2 separate regions of the Homo sapiens genome follow, and region 1 is linked to region 2. Evidence: promoter capture Hi-C in 16 types of primary human blood cells and fetal thymus (Javierre and others, 2016). All regions are on one chromosome and are shown on one strand. The core of a region is centred on a gene start or on the middle of the fragment in contact, and the rest is flanking DNA. Distances in the headings are between cores, read along the strand shown.

Region 1 (7,385 bases), core at 4,883-7,382, 430 kb before region 2:
CAGCCCCTCCTCCCTCAGACCCAGGAGTCCAGACCCCCCAGCCCCTCCTCCCTCAGACCCAGGAATCCAGACTCCCCCCAGCCCCTCCTCCCTCAGACCCAGGAGTCCAGAACCCCAGCCCCTCCTCCCTCAGACCCAGGAATCCAGACTCCCCCCAGCCCCTCCTCCCTCAGACCCAGGAGTCCAGACCAGCCCCAGCCCCTCCTCCCTCAGACCCAGGAGTGCAGGCCTGCCCCCACGAGCCCCTCCTCCCTCAGACCCAGGAATCCAGACTCCCCCCAGCCCCTCCTCCCTCAGACCCAGGAGTTCAGAACCCCCCCCACCAGCCCCTCCTCCCTCAGACCCAGGAATCCAGACTCCCTCCAGCCCCTCCTCCCTCAGACCCAGGAGTTCAGACCCCCCTGCCAGCCCCTCCTCCCTCAGACCCAGGAATCCAGACTCCCCCCCAGCCCCTCCTCCCTCAGACCCAGGAGTCCAGACTCCCCCCCAGCCCCTCCTCCCTCAGACCCAGGAGTCTAGACTACCCCCAGCCCCTCCTCCCTCAGACCCAGGAGTTCAGACCCCCCCCCCCGCCAGCCCCTCCTCCCTCAGACCCAGGAGTCCAGACCGCCCCCAGCCCCTCCTTCCTCAGACCCAGGAGTCCAGACTCCCCCCAGCCCCTCCTCCCTCAGACCCAGGAGTTCAGACCGCTCCCCGCCGCCAGCCCCTCCTCCCTCAGACCCAGGAATCCAGACTCCCCCCAGCCCCTCCTCCCTCAGGCCCAGGAGTCCAGATCCCCCCCAGCCCCTCCTTCCTCAGACCCAGGAGTCCAGACCCCCCGCCCCAACCCCTCCTCCCTCAGACCCAGGAGTCCAGGCTCCCCCCCAGCCCCTCCTTCCTCAGACCCAAGAGTCCAGACCCCCCGCCCCAACCCCTCCTCCCTCAGACCCAGGAGCCCAGGTCCCCAGCCCCTTCTGTTTCTGGGCCTGTCAAGTTTAAGAATGTCAAACATTTTCGACCAGTCATTCCCCTGAAGTTTTAGCAACATTTTCTCTCTCTTCTGCAAGGCACTCCAACATTCAATCTGGAATTTTAAAAAGTAACAAAACATTGCATTTGCACTAAGTCAGCCTGGAGATCCCTGGCCCTGGCCCTCTGCTCTCCTATACGCAAGCTACAGGTAGATTGGTTTGCAATGACTGAGATGGTACTAATGTTGATTTTTTTTAAGTAATTCATTTTTCTTTGGGTAAGCAGTATAGTGTGGTAGTTAAGGGACTAGCTCTGGATCTTGGCTTCTTGGGTTCAAATCCCAGTTCTAGTCCCTACAAGCTATTTTCCTTTAAGCTCATTACTTCCCCTGTCCCTGTTCCTTCATCCTTGAAATGGGAGAAAAAGCACCTACTTTCTAGGGTTATTACAGAGATTCAATAAGTTAATATACAGAAAGTGCTCAAACATTGTGTGGCACGAGGTAAGCCTTCCTTCAATGGTCATTGGTTTTAGTTTAGTTTAGTTTAGTTTAGTTTTTCTTTTTTTTTGAGACAAAGTCTTGCTCTTGTCACCCAGGCTGGAGTGCAATGGCGCGATCTCAGCTCACTGCAACCTCTGCCTCCCAGGTTCAAGTGATTCTCCTGCCTCAGCCTCCTGAGTAGCTGGTATTACAGGTGCCTGCCACCATGCCCGGCTAATTTTTGTATTTTCAGTAGAGACCAAGTTTCACCACGTTGGCCAGGCTGTCCTCAAACTCCTGACCTCAGGCAATCTGCCCGCCTTGACCTCCCAAAGTGCTGAGATTACAGGCATGAGCCACCGCGCCTGGCCCAGGCATTGGTTTTTATTGTTTATGACTTCTGGCACTTTTTTCTGCTTACAGTCTCATGAAGTTTCCTTATAATTTTTTTTTTCTTTTTTTCACATAGGGTCTTGCTCTATCATCCAGGCTAGAGTTTGGTGGCATGATCATAGCTCACTGCAGCCTCAGTCTCCTGGGCTCAAACAATCCTTTTGCCTCAGCCTTTCGAGTAGCTGGGACCATGCCTGGGCTGATTTTTTTTTTTTTTTTTAGTAGAGACGGGGTCTCACTATGTTGTCCAGGCTGGTCTCTAATTCCTGAGCTCAAGTAATCCTCCCACCTCAGCCCTCCAAAGTGCTGGGATTACAGGTGTGAACCACTGCACCGAGACAGAAGAATTTATTTAGTGAAGAGTTTTGCAGAGCAAGACAATCTGGAGCAAACTATCCAGTAAATAAGCATTCAAAGTATGCAGAGATGGCAAACCATGAAGGTCACCAGAGAAGAGGTAGAGTTAGAAATTTCTTTCTCTTCAAAGTCCCTCCACTCCCCACAGCCTAACACCTCCCTTCTTTCCCCACCCAGCTCTCAACAATTCCTCCCAAGTTCACTCACCTCGTACTGTCATAAGATAGACCCAGCCAGGCCACCAAGGGATGGGCCACATCCACGCCATGTTGGAAGCTGAGTTCCCATTCAGGCTCCACCATTTCCTGGATGTTTGATGATGAGCAATGAACTTCCCGTTCTGAGCCTCAGTTTTCTTATCTGTAAAATGGGAGTGGGTGTGATAAAGTCATTTAGTCATTTGGTCAGTCTTGCCTAAGGCTTCTTCTGGGCAAGGTCCTGTGTGGTTGCTTGGGACACAGGGATGAGTCAGTCCCGTACCTGCCCTCAAGGAGCTCACGGTCCAGTGGAAGAGATGACGAATGTCAATCCAGGTGGCCCCCCGTCCAGGTTGGGTTGAGGGAGACACCTGCTGTGGGAACCTACGTGAGAGAATGAGTAATCCAACTACAGCAGGTGGCAGCTGGGTGGTGTTCAGGGAAGGTTTCCTGGAGGAGGTAATGTCCAAGTAAAGACTTGAAGGACAGGTTATTGCCAGGAAAAGGTGGGGAAAACATGCTAAGAAGAGAGAATAGGCCAGGCACGGTGGCTCACGCCTGTAATCCCAGCACTTTGGGAGACCGAGGCAGGCAGATCACCTGAGGTCAGGAGTTCATGACCAGCCTGGCCAACATGGTGAAACCCCATCTCTACTAAAAATATAGGCATGGTGGTGTGTGCCTGTAATCCCAGCTACTCGGGAGGCTGAGGCTGGAGAATTGCTTGAACCCAGCAGGCGAAGAGAGATCGCGCCACATCACTCCAGCCTGGGCGACAGAGCGAGACTCCATCTCAAGAAGAAGAGGGAATAGCATTCAGTGAAGGGCCAGAGGCCAGAGGGCATGGCATGGGTCAGGGAAGCTTGATGTGTTCTAGAAAGCTGGAGCCACACGGAGACGTAGACATAGCTGTGTCATGCAGTGTGAGGGCCACTCACCACTCAGGACTCCTTTTAAAAAAATTTTTGACAGGGTCTGGCTCTGTCACACTGAAGTGCAGTGGCGTGATTATGGCTTACTGCAACCTGGGCCTCCAGGCTCAAGCAACTATCCCACCTCAGCCTTCTGCATAGCTGGGACCACAGATGTGTGCCACCACACCTAGGTAATTTTTTTCTTTTCTTTTTTTTGTTTTTTTTTTTAGAGATAGGGTCTCACTATATTGTCCAGGCTGGTCTCGAACTCCTAGGCTCAAGTGATCTTCCCACCTCTGCCTCCCAAAGTGCTTGGATTACAGGCATGAGCCACCTTGCCCAGCCATGTCAGGCTGGGGTGCAGTGGTATAGTCACAGCTCACTGCAGGCTCGACCTCCCAGGCTCAGCAATTCTCCCGCCTCAGCCTCCGGAGTAGCTGGGACTACAAGTGTGCACCACCACATCTGGCTAATTTTTTTACTTTTTGCAGAGATGGTTTCTCACTATGTTGCCCAGGCTGGTCATGAACTTCCGGACTCAAGCTATCTACCCACCTTGGCCTCTCAAAGTGCTGGGATTACAGACATGAGCCACCATGCCTGGCCTTAAATTTATTTTTTAATTGACAAGTAAAAATTGTATATATTTCTGGTGTATAACATCATGTTTGATATATGTATGTATATGTTGTGGAATGGCTAAACCAAGCTATTTAACATATGCATTATTTTACACCCTTATTTTTTGTGGTAAGGACACTTAAAAAATCTTCTGACTTAAAAAAAAAAGTATGGTGATTGGAAAATGTAAATGTGCATGCGTGCTTGGCATCACATTTCATTGGCCAGGACTTCCCTGGATGCTAAAGGTCCTCAAATGCCAGGCTGGGGGGCTGGGACTTGGTCCCAAGGGAGATGGGGACCCAGGGCACGTCTGTGAGAGGAGGGGCAAGGTCAGCACAAGGCACAGGAAGGTCTCTCTGGGGCAAGGGATACAGAGAACAGAGGGATCCTGGTCCAGGTGGGAGAGGTGCAGCTCTGAGTTGGGGTTGAGGGTGTGGGTACAGAGAGGAAGGGACCCCCCAGAGAGAGGAGGCAGAGGGATAGGGCCTGGTCACTGGGTTGTGCAACATCAGACTTGCTGTCTGTGAAGATAGCACGTCCTGAGAAGAAGGTGCTGAGGTCAGTGGGGACCAAATGTGAGAGGGAGCACCCGGAGAGTATACTGAATACCGAAGTAGTCTTCATCCCTGGAGTGATGGGGGGTGCACAATGCAAGATGACAATTAGATTCAATGCAAGACAAAGAAAAGGGTTGGCTGGGAACAGTGGCTCATGCCTATGGTCCCAGCTCCTGGGAAGACTGAGGCGGGAGGGTCGCTTGAGCCCAGGAGGGTTGAGGCTGCCACGAGCAAGGATCGTGCCACTGCACTCCAGCCTAGGCGACAGAACAAGACCTTGTCTCAAAAGAAAAAAGAACTTTTTTTTTTAAGTTACCTGTAGTGCCCAGCCCAAGCAGGTGCTGAGCCAGACTTCATTCCTATCATTGTCCTTATTACGCAGTGACTTCCCCCTCCTCATTTCTCTCCACTCTGCCACGCACACACCCTCACCCTCCAGCCCATACCAACCACCCCAACCACTGCCTGTGGTTTCCCATGTGCACCCAGGCCAGGCATTTTCACGGCCTTTCCTCCTGACCTACGCCTGGCTCAGCTTTCTAGGCCCAAGTTCAAAGACACCTCCCTAAATCTTCCCAGATCCCTCTGCTACTGCCCAGCACCACCATCTTATCACAGCCCCACGTCGTTCCCAAGTGCTCTCCGATTTCTGCTTAACTCCATGCCTCTCGCTGTGTGTCCGCATCTCATCAATAAGTCCTCAAGTCCTCTTCCATCCTGCTAGCTTCCTCATCGCTCGGGAATCATCCCCGCTACTTCCTGGGGAAACTGACTCCCTTCTGGGCACACACAGTGCTACCCCCGGGGAAATCTAAGAAGAGACCCAGGAGAAGATAAGCACGGAGAGTCAGAGAATCAAGGGGAAAGAAAGGGAGAGAGGCCGGGCACAGTGGCTCACACCTGTAATCCAGCACTTTGGGAGGCCAAGGTGGGTGGATCACCTGAGGTCAGGAGTTTGAGACCAGCCTGGCCAACATGGTGAAACCTCTTCCCTACTAAAAATACAAAAAACATTTAGCCGGGCGTGGTGGTGGGTGCCTGTAATCCCAGCTACTTGGGAAGCTGAGGCAGGAGAACTGCTTGAACTCAGGAGGCGGAGGTTGCAGTGAACTGAGATCACACCACTGCACTCCAGCCTGAGTGACAGAGCAAGACTCCGTCAAAAAAAAAGAAAGAAAGAAAGAAAAGAAGGAAGGAAAGAAAGAAGGAAGGAAGGAAGGGAGGAAGGGAGAGAGGAAGGGAGAGAGGAAGGGAGAGAGAGAAAAAAAGAGGGAGAGAGACACAAATACAGAGACTGAGATGGGAGAGAGAGAGAGATGGAAGCTCCCTCCCCTCCATGGCCAGGGAGACAGATGGAGCAAGAGACCTCAGGGGTGGGCAGACTTGGAGGAGAAGGACCAGGAGGATGTGGAGTGCCGAAATCTCCAGTCAGGGCCAGGTGGGCAGTCAGAGACTGCAAAGGAGGACTGTCAGACAGGGACAAAAGGAAGCCATTGATGTAACCGCCCTCCCGCCTGCCCGCCGGAAGAGAGGTTGAGGCCGGAGCTGCTGGGAGCATGGCACTGGGGTGCTGGGGGCGGACAAAGCCCGATTGTTCCTGGGCCCTTTCCCCATCGCGCCTGGGCCTGCTCCCCAGCCCGGGGCAGGGGCGGGGGCCAGTGTGGTGACACACGCTGTAGCTGTCTCCCCGGCTGGCTGGCTCGCTCTCTCCTGGGGACACAGAGGTCGGCAGGCAGCACACAGAGGGACCTACGGGCAGGTGTGTGAGTCACCCCAACCGCACTGAACCTGGGCAGGCTGCTTCCCAGTGCCGGAGGGCTCTAGAGCCCGGAGTGAGGGCCTGCAGGTCCCTGGGTGGCACAGAGAGTGCTGGGGGTGCAGGGAGGCCTGGGGCACCATCTGCTTGCCCCAGAGGCCGGAATTTGTCTTCAGACACTTTCTTTCTCCAAAACCCGGAGGTCTAAGGACTGAGCCGACTAGAACTTCCTCTGCCTCAGATTCAGGCCCCAGCCCCTCCTCCCTCAGACCCAGGAGTTTAGGTCCTAGCCCCTCCTCCCTCAGACCCAGGAGTCCAAGTTCCCACCTCCTCCCTCAGACTCAGGAGTCCAGGCCCCCAGCCCCTCCTCCCTCAGACCCAGGAGTCCAAGTTCTCACCTCCTCCCTCAGACCCAGGAGTCCAGGCCCCAAGCCCCTCCTCCCTCAGACGCAAGGGTCCAGGCCCCCAGCCCCTCCTCCCTCAGACTCAGGAGTCCAGGCCCCCAAGCCCCTCCTCCCTCAGACCCAGGAGTCCAGGCCCTCACTGCACTCAGGGACCAGTGCTCCCTTCCCTGGAGGCCTGGTCAGGGGTCACCAAGAGCAGAGCGTGGGGGCGGGAGGAATGTGTGTGGGAGGCCTGGGTAAGGAGGAAAAGGGTGTAGCCAGTCTCCTGGCTCAGGGACCTGAGAGACAGGGGTTAAAAGGACGTTCCAGAAGCATCTGGGGACAGAACCAGCCTCTTCCAGGGAGGCCTGGGAGCTGGGGGTGTGTGTCTGGCAGTCCCTGCAGCCCTGGGCTCTGCGGCCCCTGCGTCCTCCGCTTGGCTCTGCCACTGCATCTGAGTGTCTTCTCTCCTCACGGCTCCCCGCATTTCTAACTCTTTCTGCCTCCTCGTCTCAAAGCTGTTCCTTCCCCCGACTCAAGAATCCCCGGAGCCCGGAGGCCTGCAGCAGGTGAGATCACAGACATCACAGAACCTGCCGGGTGGGCGGGGTGGGTGGCCATTGCGCACAGAGCCAGGCTCCGAGGAAAACTCCCATACAGAGGAAGAACGCTAGGGCCCCCTAGGGTAACCCTCTCCTGTCGACAGGAAGGCAAATCAGTGCCCAAGAAAGTAGAAAGATCTAATCAGAATCTCACCATGGGTTACTGGACC
Region 2 (7,256 bases), core at 671-3,170:
AGCATTTATCTGGAGCAGGGGGTCAGGGAGCGCTCATCTAACCCCATTTATTCCTGTGAGGGCAGGATGACTTCTCCCATCTTATGGACGTGGAAATGGAGGCACAGGCTCTGAGTGACTTATCCAAGGTCGCCCAGCAAGCTGTAGCCCCCATGGGCTTGCCATGTGCCTCAGAAGGTATATATGTCTGTCCCACCCTGAGAGTCAGTGTGGAGAAGCCAGGCCCAGACAGCCAAAGTGGGGCAGCTACAGGATGGTAATTCTGTTGCAAAAACAAAAAACAAAACCTGGCCGGGCACGGTGGCTCACGCCTGTAATCCCAGCACTTTGGGAAGCCAAGGCAGGTGGATCACAAGGTCAGGAGTTCGAGACCATCCTGGCCAACATGGTGAAACCCTGTCTCTACTAAAAATACAAAAATTAGCCGGGTGTGGTGGCGGGCACCTGGCTACTTGGGAGGCTGAGGCAGGAGAATCGCTTGAACCCAGGATGCAGAGGTGGTAGTGAGCCGAGATCGTGCCACTGCACTCCAGCCTGGCGACAAAGCAAGAATCCGTCTTGAAAAAAAAAAGGCGGCGTGCGGTGGCTCGCACCTGTAATCCCAGCACGGTGGCTCACACCTGTAATCCCAGCACTTTGGGAGGCCAAGGCAGGTGGATCGCTTGAGCTCAGGAGTTTGAAACCAGCCTGGGCAACATAGCAAGACCCCATCTCTACTAAAAATACAAAAATTAGCCAGGTGTGGTGGCACGCACCTGTAGTCCCAGATCCCTGGGAGGCTGAGGTGGGAAGATTGCATGAGGCCAGGAGGCAGAGGCTGCAGTGAGCTGTGATTTTGCCACTGGACTCCAGCCTAGGTGGCAGAGCAAGACTCTGTCTCAAAAAAAAAAAAAAAAAAAAAAAAAAACAAGACAAAACCCAAACTAACCAAATAAAAACCCCGGCCATAGTGCATTATCAAGGCAAATACCAAGAATAGCTTTTAAATTACCCACTAGTTCGCATTTTCCAGGCGGCTGATCCCTCCAGGGGCATGAAACATGGAGCTTTTGATTGGACAGACTTTTCCCAGTTAGAGCCCTTTAAGGAAGAAAACGGTGGGAGGGCCGGGCGCGGTGGCTCGCGCCTGTAATCCCACCACTTCGGGAGGCCGAGGCGGTTGGATCACCTGAGGTCAGGAATTGGAAACTAGCCTGGCCAACATGGCGAAACCCCGTCTCTACCAAAAATACAAAAATTATCTGGGAGTGGTAGTGCGTGCCTGTAGTACTAGCTACTCAGGAGGCTGAGGCAGGAGAATCACTTGAACCCGGAGGCAGAGGTAGGTTGCAGTGAGCTGAGATTGTGCCACTGCACTCCAGCCTGGGCAACAGAGAGAGACTCCATCTCAAAAAAGGCAAAAAAGAAAGAAAGAAAGAAAATGGCGGAAGGGAGGATCTGTAGAGGGGAATCTAGGAGCTGACCTCTCTTGAGGTCAACTGGGACATTCCCCAGCCGCGGGCCTGCGACCAGCAGCCAGGAGGTCCTCTGGATAGGAGGGAGCAGTGCGCCCTCTGCCGTCCGTTCCCGGGCTGCTGAGACTTCGTGTCTAACTGCGGCCTCCCTGGCTCTCATTCCAGCTGAGTTATCCTCTTCATTCCCTCAGCAGCGCCATCTCGGGGCCCACATAATCCTTGTCACCACTCCGAGCCTCAGTTTCTACCCTTTTCAAATAGGATTTCCCATACTTTGTCAGTTTCTTCTTAACTTTTTCTCATGATGACTCACAGCACACTTACAGAAAAGAACAGTCGGCCGGGCGCGGTGGCTCACACCTGTTAAAGTTAAATTGACAAAGGCGTAGAATTGCTTGGCGTCCTGCAAAGCCACATGGCCCCTGAGCCTCGGGACAGGCTGCTGGGTGGGAGTATCAGTCCCACATCTCTGTTGAGCAGCCTGCGAGTCCTGAGAGGCACAAGACCCGCGTTCTCCCCTCCACGAATGACGCTAAGGCGTTGAGTCACCTCTCTGAGCCTGCCTTCTCGTCTAGAAAATAGACCAATTATTTCTACAGCTCAGCGAGGGTGGGCGGGAGAATGTCAGTCGGGCCCCCAGCATTGCTCCAAGCCCTTTACAGGGTCAGTGAATTTCAGCCTCACGACAGCCCCCTGAGTAGGTCCTATTCTTCTCATGTTACAGATGAGGAAACTGAGGCATAGGAGAGTTAAGACACTTGCAAACGGTCCTGGTCCCATGGTTAGTAACGGAGCTGGGACTCGGCCCAGGCAGGCTGGCTGCAGAACTTGGTTTTTTCAACGCGATTCGTAATGCTTCCTAATTCGTAGCTATCCCTGGCGCTGCACCCTGGTGACTCAGTCTCAGAACTGCCACTGAGTCCCAGTCTACATCCCCACAGCCCAGCCTGGCTCTGGCCTTGTCCTTGCTCATCTGGAAGCCCCAGCTTCTTCCTAGCCTCCCAGATGTAGCCTGTACCCACACACCCCTGCCACCACACCCAGCTGGAGTCGCCACACCAACTCCTCCTAGGGGACACCTTTCTGCAAGCCACCCTGTCCCCATCTCAGATCAGGATGAGTATGCCTGGCGCTCCCAGCTACACCAAGCTCAGGGGCACCCTCTACTGGGCACCAGAAGCTACCCCAGCCCCTTCCTTCCCACCCTTCCAGAAACTTGCCCTGCCTTTAAATAGTCACAGACAGATGTGCTTGCCCTGTGCCAGGCGCTCTTCTCCATGGCTTACAGATATCGAGACAGTTTAATCCTCACAAGGATGCCGTGGTCTCGTCACCACCCCGTGGCGAGTCTAGGAGCTGAGCTGAGACCCGTGCATCTTTCTCCCTGCATGGGCTGTCCCTCCTGTGTCTGAACAGCCCCGGCTAATCCATCTGCAGCATTCAGTGCAGCCCTGATTTGTTTATTGAGCACCTAGTGTGTGCCAGGCACCACCCGAGGCCCAGAGAGCAGGACATACAGAGATCCCTGCCCTCTCGACACTGCGTGCAGAAAGAGGTCGTTCAGAAAGTCGGCAAGTCTCATCCGGGCACAGTGGCTCACGCCTGTAATCCTAGCACTTCGGGAGGCTGAGGCGGGTGCTCACTTGAGGTCAGGAGCTTGAGACCAGCCTGACCAACGTAGTGAAACCCCATCTCTACTAAAAATACAAAAATTAGCCAGGTGTGGTGATGTGTTACTGTAATCCCAGATACTCGGGAGGGTGAGGCAGGAGAATCGCTTGAACCTGGGAGGCGAAGGTTGCAGTGAGCTGAGATCATGCTATTGCACTCCAGCCTGGGCGACAGAGCGAGACTCCATCATAAAAAAAAAAAAAAGGAAGGTAAACAAGTCCAGTAGCAGCGTGCACGAGCTGGCGGGGGGCTGCTGAGCTGAACATAGTGAGGGGAGGCCAGGGAAGGCTGCCCAGGAAGCGGTGTAGGCCCATGGCCTGTGCCTCAGCTTAACCCCACTCTCCCACCCCACCCGCAGGTGCCTTAGGCAAAGTCCTGCTGCCTTGCTTGGTCTTGCACATGCCTCTGATATAGATCTCATCCCCTTGTTGTTTACACCCAGGTTCAGATGCCTCTCTGGGCTCCTGGTGGTGGGGAAGGGTGGGAGGCGGGTAGCCATCCAGCCAGACTTTCCACCCAGGCCAGGGCCTGGTCCCAGAAGGGCTCAGGAGGCCACTCCCAGGAGGATGAATGGGAGGAGGGAGACAGGGACGTCTAGGCCTGAGCCGGGTCAGTGTGAGAATCAGGGGCCCACAACGGCCCCTGCAGTGCTGCCAGTCATGGCATCAGGGAAGTCCCTGTTGGAGAGGGAGGCACAAGTTCCTTGTCTCAGGGACAAGCAAGAAATATGAGAAGTCATCATAAAGACAGTTGATGTGACAAATAACGGTTTTTAAAATCTGAATGTAAAAAAATTAACACACACACACAAACAACAGTAAGCTTGCTAAACTTTTGTGATTGACTCATTATATTCAAAACATAAAAACAGGCCGAGTGCAGTGGTTCACGTCTGTAATCCCAGCACTCTGGGAGGCAGAGGCAGGCAGATCACCTGAGGTCAGGAGTTGGAGACCAGCCCGGCCAACTTGGTGAAACCTTGTCTCTACTAAAATACAAAAATTAGCCTGGTGTGGTTGTTTGCACCTGCAATCCCAGCTACTCAGGAGGCTAAGGTGGGAGAATCACTTGAACCCAGGAGGCGGAGGCTGCAGTGAGCTGAAATCATGCCACTGCACTCCAGCCTGAGCAATAGAGCAAGATCCTGTCTTAAAAATAAATAAATAAATAAACAGGCCGGGCGTGGTGGGTCACGCCTGTAATCCCAGCACTTTGGGAGGCCAAGGCGGGCAGATCATGAGGTCAGGAGATCGAGACCATCCTGGCTAACACAGTGAAACCCTGTCTCTACTAAAAATACAAACAATTAGCTGGGTGTGGTGGCAGGCGCCTGTAATCCCAGCTACTCGGGAGGCTGAGGCAGGAGAATCACTTGAACCCGGGAGGCAGAGGTTGCAGTGAGCTGAGATCGCTGCACTCCAGCCTGGTGACAGAGCAAGACTCTGTCTCAAATAAATAAATAAATATAAATAAATACAATTTATAATGTTAAGATGAACAGTTCACTTAATTGTTTTCTTACCACAGTTACATTTTTAATAAGGAATTTCTTCACAATTTATTTTCTTAAAAACCCCAACAGATCTCAGTGGGATTTTTTTCAGCTTTAGTAATATTTACCTACCACAACCAAAGTGGAAAGTCCCCCTACACAGGCCAAGTTGCAGGATAAAAGGAAAGTCCCCATCGGGGTTAGAAGGCAGTCATTGATGGGGGCCACGTCCCTTTGCCGGATTCACATCTGCATCATTGAGATCTGTCCCAGAGCCCAGCATAGGTGGAGGTGGGCTCAGCAGATGGGGGCTGAAGATCCAGGGAACTTGGAAGTGTGGGCAGCTATGTGGCTGTCAGAGGTGGCCCCAGGCCTAGGTCCTCTACTGTAGGACAAAATGTCAACATCTTCGTCAGGCTAAAGATGTTAGGGTGAGGGGGCAGGAGGATTTACCTGCGTCAAGAACCAATCCCCACCTTGCCCATCCTACTCTGTGTCAGGGCCATGAGGGTGATGACACTCACAACTTCAGAGGTGATCTGGTCTAGGGTGTTTCAAATCAGGCCTTGGAGGGGCCCCAGGCCTGCCTCCCCCTGCAACCAGGGCAGCCTCCACGATCTGTGTACACCTTTGCTGGTTAAATGATTGTTGGCATAATTGTTTTGTTTAGTGTCTCTCTTCTTCTCTGAGGCCAGGATCTAGGAAGACAGGGCTTTGTCTGTCTTGTCCACAGCTGGATCCCCAGAGCCCAGTATGACACTTGACACATAGCAGCTCTCAAAAAATAACCTGTCAAATGAGCGAAACAATACATGGTAATGTAAGAATGAATGGGCCCCACAGCTCAAAAAGCATTGTGAAGCCCACAGACAGCCCAACTGTTTCAGTTTAGGGTGGGTAGGTGTGGTGGAGACTCCCATGTCTGTGCTCAGGAGAAGGAGACGTTGAGTCTTGGTTCTGCAACTTTGGAGCCTGTGAGACTGGGGACAAGTGACTTTACTTCTCTGAACCTTCATTTTCTCAGCTATGAACCACCAGATATGAAGGGAGCAGGGGTATGTGCTTGATAACCCCCATGTGACAGAATTTCCACAAAGATTAAATGAGATCATACCTCAGAGCATTTAGCACAGCTCTGGCAATAATCGGCAGTTAACAAATTATGATTCCCCCCCTTTTACCTTATTGGGAAGCTGACCAGGATGTCTCTTTGTTTTAGAGTCAGAGATGAGATCAGCTTTGCATTATTTGGGAGGAGAAGAGAAGAATTAACTAGTCTTTGGTCTTTGTATCATTTGGGAGGAGAAGAGAAGAATGAACTGGTCTTTGGTCTTTGTATTATTTGGGAGGAGAAGAGAAGAATGAACTGGTCTTTGGTATTTGTATTATTTGGGAGGAGAAGAGAAGAATTAACTGGTCTTTGGTCTGTGTATTATTTGGGAGGAGAAGAGAAGAATTAACTGGCTTTGGTCTTTAGGTATGCATGTTAAATTTTAAGGGTAACCACTAAATAATGAGAAAATATATAAATTCTAATACAGTAGAGAGAAGAAATGGAATCATAAGAAATTCAGTCAATACAAAGAAGACAGGAAAGGGGAAAGAATAAGCTATAAAAATCAGGACAATTAAAAAGCACAAAATAACATTATAGGAAGAATTTCAAATATATTAGTAATTATAGTAAATGTAAATGAGCTAAACTTCCAGTTAAAAGACAAGGATTTCAGACTGACTTAAAATCGAAAGACATACCTAAAACATGAGGACAGAAATCATGAAAGTAAAAATGATGACAAACACAAGAAAGGTGATGTAGCTTTAATGATCTCAGACGTGCACACGAAGGTAAAAAGCAGAATAGGTTGGAAGCAGAACACCAATGCTTTTCCGTTCCCAAGTTCTGTCATATTGATGTCAACATGATTTTGACATGTTGGCATTATCACCCAGGCCAAAAAGCGTGAGGGAAACAGGGACCAGCACAACCAGGGTGTTCCCCAATAAGAGCCTTAGACACTCTAGTCTGTTTACTCAGCAGACCTTGGCCGAAGTCTGTCACGAATTTGGCCTTGCATAGCGTGCTGGGAATGCAGAAGTCGCCCCAACACAGTCTCTACTCACACCAACTCACAGCCTAGACAAGGAGACAGACGTGTGAAACCAAATTATAGTCACTGCGATAGGGATCTAATAAGAGAGTGTGTGTGTGTGACTGATGAGGGACCAGGGGTCAAAAAGGGCTTTTCCAAGGAAGGCAATTGGAATTTTCCAGAGAACAAGGAGGAGGACAGTATAGAAAAGGGGCAGAGCCTGTGCAAAGGCAGAGAGGCTGGACAGAGTGTGGCAAGCAGAGGGAACCCCATGCATCTCTCTTCTCCCTACTATGGCTAGAGTCAAGGAGAGGGCAGCAGGGCAGGTTCTGAAGGGCCTCTGACACTTTGTCGAGGGTGATAGCCATGGGAGGCTGGGAGTGGGGATGTGGCAAGGTCTGAACTGCATTTCCGGTCATTCTGACAGCCAGTGTAGAGGAAAGATGCTGAGGGAGAAACTGGAAGCCCAGAGACAGGACCAGTGTTTTGTTTTTTTGTTTTTGTTTTTGTTTTTGTTTTTGTTGAGACAGAGTCTCACTGTCACCC

What was found. The method cuts DNA at HindIII sites, captures the fragments that hold promoters and counts their contacts. A CHiCAGO score of 5 or more calls a contact.
Region 1: the fragment with the promoter of KLK6 here is called in contact with a fragment that was not itself captured in region 2 in 2 of 17 cell types (M1 macrophages and M0 macrophages); the score reaches 9.1 in M1 macrophages.

What each region holds. Positions count from the first base shown.
Region 1 is chr19:50,968,338-50,975,722 of GRCh38, reverse strand. KLK6 (kallikrein related peptidase 6) reads left to right here and starts at 6,132. Exons shown (of 7, transcript NM_002774.4): 1 at 6,132-6,233; 2 at 7,132-7,182. LOC105372442 (a long non-coding RNA gene) reads right to left here. Exons shown (of 7, transcript XR_007067308.1): 4 at 7,370-7,385; 5 at 2,663-2,763; 6 at 2,390-2,542; 7 at 997-1,063. The HindIII fragment of the contact is 4,765 bases long and covers 3,244-7,385 here.
Region 2 is chr19:50,532,211-50,539,466 of GRCh38, reverse strand. All of the region lies in intron 2 of LRRC4B (leucine rich repeat containing 4B), which reads left to right. LOC124904747 (a long non-coding RNA gene) reads right to left here. Exons shown (of 3, transcript XR_007067300.1): 3 at 4,636-5,406. Among named protein-coding and RNA genes, the nearest start is that of ASPDH, 22 kb to the right of the region's middle. RefSeq lists an enhancer at 4,726-4,815. The HindIII fragment of the contact is 4,058 bases long and covers 1-3,949 here.